3 separate regions of the Homo sapiens genome follow, and all the other regions are linked to region 1. The links are contacts of gene promoters, found by promoter capture Hi-C in human tissues and cell types (Jung and others, 2019). All regions are on one chromosome and are shown on one strand. Each heading gives the region's core, a stretch centred on a gene start or on the middle of the fragment in contact. The rest is flanking DNA. Distances are from core to core; before and after follow the strand shown.

Evidence for each region. Contacts are between HindIII fragments. The study calls those that stand out against the background at their distance.
Region 2: a fragment that was not itself captured here is called in contact with the fragment with the promoter of CST5 in region 1 in 2 of the 25 tissues and cell types used here (dorsolateral prefrontal cortex and spleen).
Region 3: a contact is called between a fragment that was not itself captured here and the fragment with the promoter of CST5 in region 1, in 1 of the 25 tissues and cell types used here (thymus).

What each region holds. Positions count from the first base shown.
Region 1 is chr20:23,878,465-23,881,164 of GRCh38, forward strand. CST5 (cystatin D) reads right to left here and starts at 1,284. Exons shown (of 3, transcript NM_001900.5): 1 at 982-1,284. The coding sequence starts at 1,212. RefSeq lists an enhancer at 777-1,606. The HindIII fragment of the contact is 5,935 bases long and covers 1-2,700 here.
Region 2 is chr20:23,743,552-23,746,251 of GRCh38, forward strand. It overlaps LOC124904966 (a long non-coding RNA gene), which reads left to right and starts at 536. Exons shown (of 2, transcript XR_007067750.1): 1 at 536-739; 2 at 1,306-1,973. The HindIII fragment of the contact is 5,709 bases long and covers 1-2,700 here.
Region 3 is chr20:23,679,759-23,682,458 of GRCh38, forward strand. No RefSeq gene overlaps it. Among named protein-coding and RNA genes, the nearest start is that of CST4, 7.9 kb to the right of the region's middle. The HindIII fragment of the contact is 4,514 bases long and covers 1-2,700 here.

The DNA.
Region 1 (2,700 bases), core at 34-2,533:
CACAAGTCCTGTAGAACCACATGGAAGTCCTGTGATCCCTCCGGTGTCAGTCTGCTGCTCTGTAAAATAGGCTCCAGGGCCCAACGATCTACATCATTCTGTGCTTCACTCCCAGTGAGTGACACACTTAAGAGGGAGTGCAGGCCAGCAGGGACCACAGCACCAGGGAATGCCCCTCCTGTGCAGGGAGAGGGCTGCAGGAGGAGAAACAGGGCTGGTCTGGACTCCTCTGACTTTCCAAGAGAAGGTGGAGGAGCTCTAAAGGCTGGCAGGCCATATAGCCCTGTGGTCGCTGTGTCACTGCTGCTCTGCCATGGGACGTAGGTCAAGCTGGGCTCGGTAGCCCTGCTGAAGCTTCCTCCCTCTGGACCCAACCACCTCCTTCACTCTGCTGGGTGATTGCTGTCCTCATTTTGCTGAGGTCTAACTCTGCGTTAGCTGGCAGAGGCAGGGTCAGGCATGCTCTACCCCAGCAGGAACTCAGCTGTCCTGGGCTGTAGGGGGTGGTCAGCCAGCCTGAGAGTGAAGGCCACTAGCCATAACGGGCTGTGCCCAGGGGCGTGACTTGGGAGGGAAGCGGGGCTATCCAGGACAAGGAGTCAGGTTCCCGTGTGGCCCCTGTGGAGAGGACTCAGGGAGGAAGATGAACCTCGTGGCCTGGATCTCATCCTGAGCAGCATCAAGCCCACCCAGAGTCAGCACAGTCTCCATCCACACCTGCTGGACCCTGGGAAATGCCACAGTCATGGTACAGACACAGTGGCTGCTGCAGGTTAAAAGAGGCCGAGGGGACAGGACAGGGCTGAACTCATGCACTCACGGCCAAGGAGTGTCCTAGGGCATGAAGACCATCAGCAGACAGTCAGAGAAAGCTGAATGAGTCTGCGGTTTAGATAATGTTGATTTGCTGGGAGTGCTCTGGGGGGTGAGGCAAAAAACCCAGCTGGGACTCAGGACCCCCAGGGTGGTGGTAGCACGCACCTGCTGGTAGGCAGCCATCACCTGCAGAGGGCGGCTGTAGTACTCATCCTTATTAATGACCTTGTTGTACTCGCTGATGGCAAAGTCCAGGGCACACTGCACACTCTTGTCATTGAGGTCTGTGGCATGGATGCCACCTGCCAAGGTCCTAGATTGGGCCGAGGCACTCCCGGCCACGGCCACCATCAAGGCAGTCAGCAGCAGCAGTGGGGTGTGCATGGGCCACATCATGTTCTACTGGGACACAGAGCAAGGAGCTGGATCTCCCAGAGAGCAAAGCAGCAGAAGGCTGAGGCAGGAAGCCCAGGCCAGAAGCTAGCTGTGCATTTATCCTACTTGGGTGTCCCCCAACCCCACCTGCTCCCTGGCCCCGCCCCTGGCTCCTCCTCCTCTTTCTACCCCTCCTCTTCTGTCTCTATCTCCCTTTCCACCCCCAACCACCTCCCTCCCTCCCTAAGTTCCCTTCGCTCCTCCCATGCCTCCTCCTCATCCTCCTCCCCACTCCTGTCCTGACCGCAACCTCCCCACAGCCCTGCCCCTCTTCCTCAGTGCTCTAAAGCTTGGCTCACTCTGGATTCCAGAGAGGTGACACCGCTCCCTGGGCTGTGAAACCTGGTGACCACCTATGTCCACAGGAAAGGGAGAAATACAGGGCTTGGCCTTCTAAAGTCTTCAGATGTCAGGGGCATCCAGGAGCACGTGGTCATGGTCTGGGAATTCCTGGGGCAGGGAGCTGTTTCAGAAGCTCCGGGATGACCTTGTCCATGCCCTCTTCTGGGGAACTTCTTTGCCAAACATAAAGTAATTAACCTTTGGGTAAAGTTCACTGGGTTCTCGTTTCATAACTCCTCATTATTCAATAAACAAACCTGTCACCAGCTTCCCCCTGCACCAAGCAGTCTGGGCAATAGAGCCGTAGACATGAACTTGCAGAGCTGCCATCCAACAGAGATGTGACAGAAACCCAGGAGCAATTTAAAACACATTTGAAAAAGTTAAAAGATACAGCTGAAAGTAATTTTGGTATTTCTACTTTAACCTAATATATCCAAAATACTTCAACACTTCAGGACTATTCTTAAGGAGCTAGTTTACATTCTTTTGTGTGAGTGTAATGTCTTGAAGTTCCCTGTGTATTTTTTACAGTTAGACCAAGCGTCACTGTGGACTAGCCCCATTTCAAGTGCCCTGTGGCCACGAGTGGCTGCTGGTGGCTGTGGTACTGCATAGCCCAGCCATTAGGGTGTGTGGGAGGATGCAGAGTGGTGATCAACAATTTAGATCAGGGAATTATAGTCGCTCAGTTAGAGAGAGGGTGGGTGCTACTGGACCCTGGTCAGGGAAGTCTCTAAGAGACCGGAAAGGTTGAGAAGCCCCAGGCAGCAGGGAATAGTCAGTGCAAAGGCCCTGAGGCAAGGCTGGGCATGCCTGCTCCAGGAAGAGGAAGCTCCTGGAGGGGGTGTGAGCAGGGAAGGGAACGACCTGGAGTCTCACGGTAACTGTGGGTGTGTCCAGGTGGAAGGCGCAGGGAGACCCCTGGCAGGTGGTGGGGGTGTCAGGAGAAGGAGCAGCAGCCACAGGATGAATGTGGGAGCCCAAGAGCCTCTCTTGCTCCTCCCCTCTGGGAGACGTGCTGCCAGCACTGGTCCTCTGTACACTGCTTGGAAAACTCATGTAATATTTTAAAAATTACATTGAATGAGGTAGAATTTACACACA
Region 2 (2,700 bases), core at 180-2,679, 130 kb before region 1:
CTCCCAAAGTGCTGGGATTACAGGCTTGAGCCACTGTGCCTGGCCCAAGGTTAATATTTATATGTGAGTTTTTGATCCTACCATGAAGGTGACAACTGGTTTCCTTGCAGTATGTATTGTATTGTTGCTATATACTGTCTTTGAACTATATTTAACTGTATTTTTGCAACAGTAGGTATTGTTCTCTTATTTCCATGTTTAGAACTCCCTTAAGCATCTCTTAAGGCTGGTCTAGTGGTAACAAATTTTCTCAGTAACTGCTTGTCTGGAAAAGATTGTTTTTCTTCTTTGCTTATGAAGCTTAGTTGGATGGGATAGGACATTCTTGGTTGGAATCTATTGTCTTTAAGAACGCTGAAAATAGGTTAGTGTCATGAAAATGTACTCACTAATATGGTATGTACAATAGCACACCAGGCAGTTTGTTTTTATTTTATGTTATTTTGTTTTTAATTTTACCCAAGTGAGACCCAAGTTTTTGTATTTTTTATGGGAATTTAATGAGATAGAATTTCTTGATTTTTCATGTTTGTAGGGTGCAGATCTGCGTAGTGAAACTACCCACAGCAAGGATGTATGCCTGTGAGGTGGCACAGAACTGATGGATCAGACTTGGCCTTCAACCTCCTGTTATCCTGATGAAATTGCAAGCTCCAAACAACAGAGACACAACATTGACCAACAGTAAGATGGCTTGAAGAAATATTTCTTTCAGGACAAACTCTGTGCATTCCATGAGGTAATCAATATAGTATATAGCTATACATTTGCACAATTTTGAAGCCCACTACAACAGTCAGAGTTTTAAAATGCTGTGTTTAGTGAGCATTATTGATAGAGTCTTTAAGATCATCAATCTTAAGTCAAGAAAATTTAGAAAGTACTAAAATCTTAGCGCTCACATGAAAGAAAACTGGAAGCTTTTCCAAATTAGACAACAATCAGACAAATTTGCATAGTATTACCTATATGAGCTTTGAAGCAGAAAGAAAATGTTATAATCCATGATTTTCACAAGTAGGATTGATTGTAGTATTTCATAATTTTGGATGATTGTATTATTTATCAGAATTTTAAAGTGATCAAACTTAGTGGAAAGACTGGTTTATCTTTCTGCTATATTTATGGAAAATTCTATTATAAAATCAATGTCATGTGATGAAGCAAATAGTTACTCAATAGTTGAGTATGAAAACATAGAAATAACTTGTTACACTGTTGAGTCAAGTAGTTAATAAAAATGCTATGTTAGCATGTAAAAAGAACACAAATTAAGGAAGGGCAAATCTGCCCTTTCATCTGCAGGGTGGATGGATGGACTTATGAGGACAAAGCCACTGACATCATGAGCAGGAAACAATGCTTCTCTCAAGCTGCAGCTTCGAAATGTCAAACAGCCTCTTCCTTGGGTGACAACTGCTTTCTGACTCAAAGGAAGACCTTGCTCTCCAGCATCAGGGGCTGTCAGAAACTTTGCTTTTGAGTAAGTACAACATCACACTGCCTGGAGGATCTAGGTCCACCTTTACACAGAAGCACAGAGCTACAGAGAAGGGGTTTCTGGATGGAACATTCACATCTGGCTGGACTTCATGGGTTCTAAGGACAGAGGACCTGGGTCCACTTTGCAGACCAGACTTGACACTGGCTGCTTTACACTTAGGACTGCTACGTTGTGAGTCCATCACTACAGCCTCAAGAATCCCTCCCCACAGTCTTATAATAACCTCTTTGCTTTGTTTTTTTAGTCATCCCAGGTTTCTTAATGTGAATTTATTCCCTTTTTGCTACAAGCCAATAATCCTGAGTCTGTTAACTGCAAAATCAGTTTTGGTGACTGAATGCACTAGGATGTATATTAGTTTCTGGAATTTGGGATGACTGTAGCATTTTTCAGCATTTTAAAGTGAGTAATTTGTTGTGACTTATTTCCTTTTCTTAAATAAACACTAACTTCTGTGTTTAGTTTCAAATAGTTTATATTATGCTATTTTTCATGTAGATAACCCTCTGAATTATGTAAGCCTCAGACCTCACGGAACCTGGATTGCCAGTGGTCATAGTGCTGAGAATCCACCTGCCCAAGGAATGACCGCTCTGGTTCCCGCTTCCCAGGCCTCCAATGGACTTATCCCTCCTTTCAGAGTGATTTGTCTATGCTGAAGGTGGAGTTTCTAACCTCAGCGGTTTTAGGCTTTTAGTAAGAATGTGTGACATTATTTTTGCTAAAGGAACTCTTAGAAGGGGTGCAATATTTCCAAAACATGACCCTCAGTATCCTCCTTTACTCCCAAAAACCGGGTGGCTTCCGGACAGGGCCCAGACCCTCAGCTTGGTCCAGAAGATGAAGGTCCACATGCTCACCTTAAAGCCTCCCTGCCCCCTGCTCCCCTCCTAGGGAACAGACACACAAGGAGATGGTTGAGGGAGCCCTCTACAGAGCCAGACGTCCCCCTCCACTTCCCCAGGAAGAGAGATGTCAGAAAAGTTACTGGTTTACACAAAATTGTCTGTTCCTTGTGTCCTTGGATGGTGGTTGCTTATGTCAAGACAGACTTTCCCCAGGTAGAGAACCATGAGGATCTCCATGCAGGGAAGACTCTGCCCCTAACCATGATTCCTGGGCACATGCTCCTCTGCTCTCAGCCCCTGTCTTCCAACAGAAGCCTGAATCAGTGTGTGCAGCCCCCACCCCCTGAC
Region 3 (2,700 bases), core at 3-2,502, 200 kb before region 1:
GCATGGAGTGGAGAGGGTGCGTCTGCACCAAGATCTCTGCATGAGAAGGGAGGGGAAGCTCAGGTTCCTATTCCAGGTAAGTGGGTACTCAACATGCCTGGAAATATCCCTGAGCAAGACAGAGACGGCACTGCTGTACCAAGATTTCTGCACAGGACAAGAGAAGTGACTCAGGGTTCCAGTCCAGTAGAGCAGGTGCACTGAGTGCTTGGAACTATGCCCTGGAGAGGAGTGGAAAATAAAGACGCACTAAGATCTCCGCATTAGAAGGGAAAGGCAACTTATACTCCTAATCCAGGTGAGGGGGTGTACTGAATTCTTGAAATTATGCCTGGTTGTGGAGTGAAGAGGGTGCTTCTGCACCAAGATGTCTGCACAGCAATGGAGGGGTGACCCAGGATCTTAATCTAGGTGAGCAGATGGGCCAAATGCCTGGAAATATGTCCCTCAGTGAGGAACAAAAAAATTTGCTGCAGAGTGGAGAAATGGCTGTTGCAAGAAGCTCTGTTCATGGGAGGGGTGCCAGGCCCTTATTTCAGGAAGTGGAAGTGTTGAATGCTGGGAAATATGCCCAGGCTTGGACCTGAGGGGGGGGTGTTTTTGCTCTGCCAAATTATTTGCAAGATAAGGGAGCTATGAACCACACTCCCCATTCACACCAGCAGCTCAAAACTGGTGGGACACACCTCCCAACTGACAAAGGGGGCAGGCTGGGGCACCCAGAAATGACACCCACACACAAGTCCATGACTGCATAGCTGTTCCTGGCCATAGTACCTATCACTCAGGAAAAATTGTGGCTTCAGCAACTCTCTTTAGTATGGATTTCTATTTTTATTTCATTTTGTCTTATTGGTATTGATTTCTATTTTTATTCCACTGTGGTCTGAGATTACAGTTAGTATGATTTTCCTTTTTTAATTTATTGAGACCTGCTTCATGGCTGAGCATGTGGTCTGTCTTAGAGCATGCTCTGTGGTCCCATGAGAAGAAAGTATGTTCTGTGGTTGATGGGTGGTGTATTCTGTAGATGTCTATTAGGTCCAATTGGTCAAGTATCAAATTTAAATCCAGAATTTCTTTGTTAGTTTTCTACGTCAATAATCTATCTAACACTGCCATTGGGATATTGAAGTACCCCATTATTATTCTGTGACTAATTCTTTTTGTTGGCCTGGGCATACTTGTTTATCAATCTAGGGGCTGCAATGTTGGGTGCACATGTTTAAGAATAACTAAGTCTTCTCGTTTAATTGAACCCTTTGTCATCATGTAATGCCCTTCTTTGTCCTTTCTAAATTGCTGTTTTGGGATTAAAGTCTGTTTCATCTGATGTGAAAATAGCAAACCTCTCCCTTTTGTGTTTTCTATTTGTGTGATAGATCTCCCTCCAACCCTTTTTGTTGAGACTATGGGTGTCATTATGTGTGAGATGGATCTTTTCAAAGACAGCAGATGGATGGGTCTGGGTTTTTAAATACAACTTGTAATCTGTGCCTTTTAAGTGGGTCATTTAGGCTGTTTATAGTCAAGATTAATATTTTTTGTTTGTTTGTTTGTTTGTTTGAGACAGAGACTTGCTCTATTGCCCAGGCTGGAGTACAATGGCACGATCTCGGCTTACTGCAACCTCTGCCTCCTGGGTTCAAGTGATTCTCCTGCCTCAGCCTCCCAAGTAGCTGGGATTATAGGTGTGCACCACCATGCCCAGCTAATTTTTTGTAGTTTTAGTAGACACTGGGTTTCACCATGCTGGGCAGGCTGGTCTCGAACTCTTGACCTTGTGATCCACCCGCCTCAGCCTCCCAAAGTGCTGGGATTACAGGTGCGAGCCACTGTGCCCGGCCCAAGGTTAATATTTATATGTGAGTTTTTGATCCTATCATGAAGGTGACAGCTGTTTTCCTTGTAGTATGTATTGTGTTGTTGCTATCTACTGTCTCTGAACTATGCATTTAACTGTATTCTTGCAACAGTAGGTGTTGTTCTCTTATTTCCATCTTTAGACCTCGTTTAAGCATCTCTTGTAAAGCTGGTCTAGTGGTAACACATTTTCTCAGTGACTGCTTGTCTGGAAAAGATTTTTTTTTCTTCTTTGCTTATGAAGCTTAGTTTGATGGGATAGGAAATTTTGTTTGGAATTTATTGTCTTTAAGAATGCTGAAAATAGGCCCCAAAAGATTGGGTTCTTTCGACACCTAGTCAAAAATGAAAGTGTTATCCTCATGAAAATGTACTCACTAATATGGTATGTACAATAGTTAGTGTATCATGAAGTTTGTTTTTATTTTATGTTATTTCGTTTTTCATTTTACCCAAGTGAGACCCAAATTGTTTTATTTTTTACAGGAATTTAATGAGATAGGATTTCTTGACTTTCACATTTGTAGGGTGCAGAACTGTGTAGTGAACTGCTCACAGCAAGGATGTATGCCTGTGAGGTGACACAGACCCGATGGATCAGACTTGGCCTCCATCCTCCTCTTATCCTGATGAAATCTGACAGCTCCAGACAACACAGATGTAAAACTTTGACCAACAGTAAGATGGCTTGAAGAAATACTTCTTTCAGGACAAACTCTTTCTGCACATTCCATAAGGTAATCAATATAGGATATAATTATACATTTGCACAATTTTGAAGCCCACTACAACAATGAGAGTTTTAAAATGCTGTGATTAGTGATCATTGTCAATAGA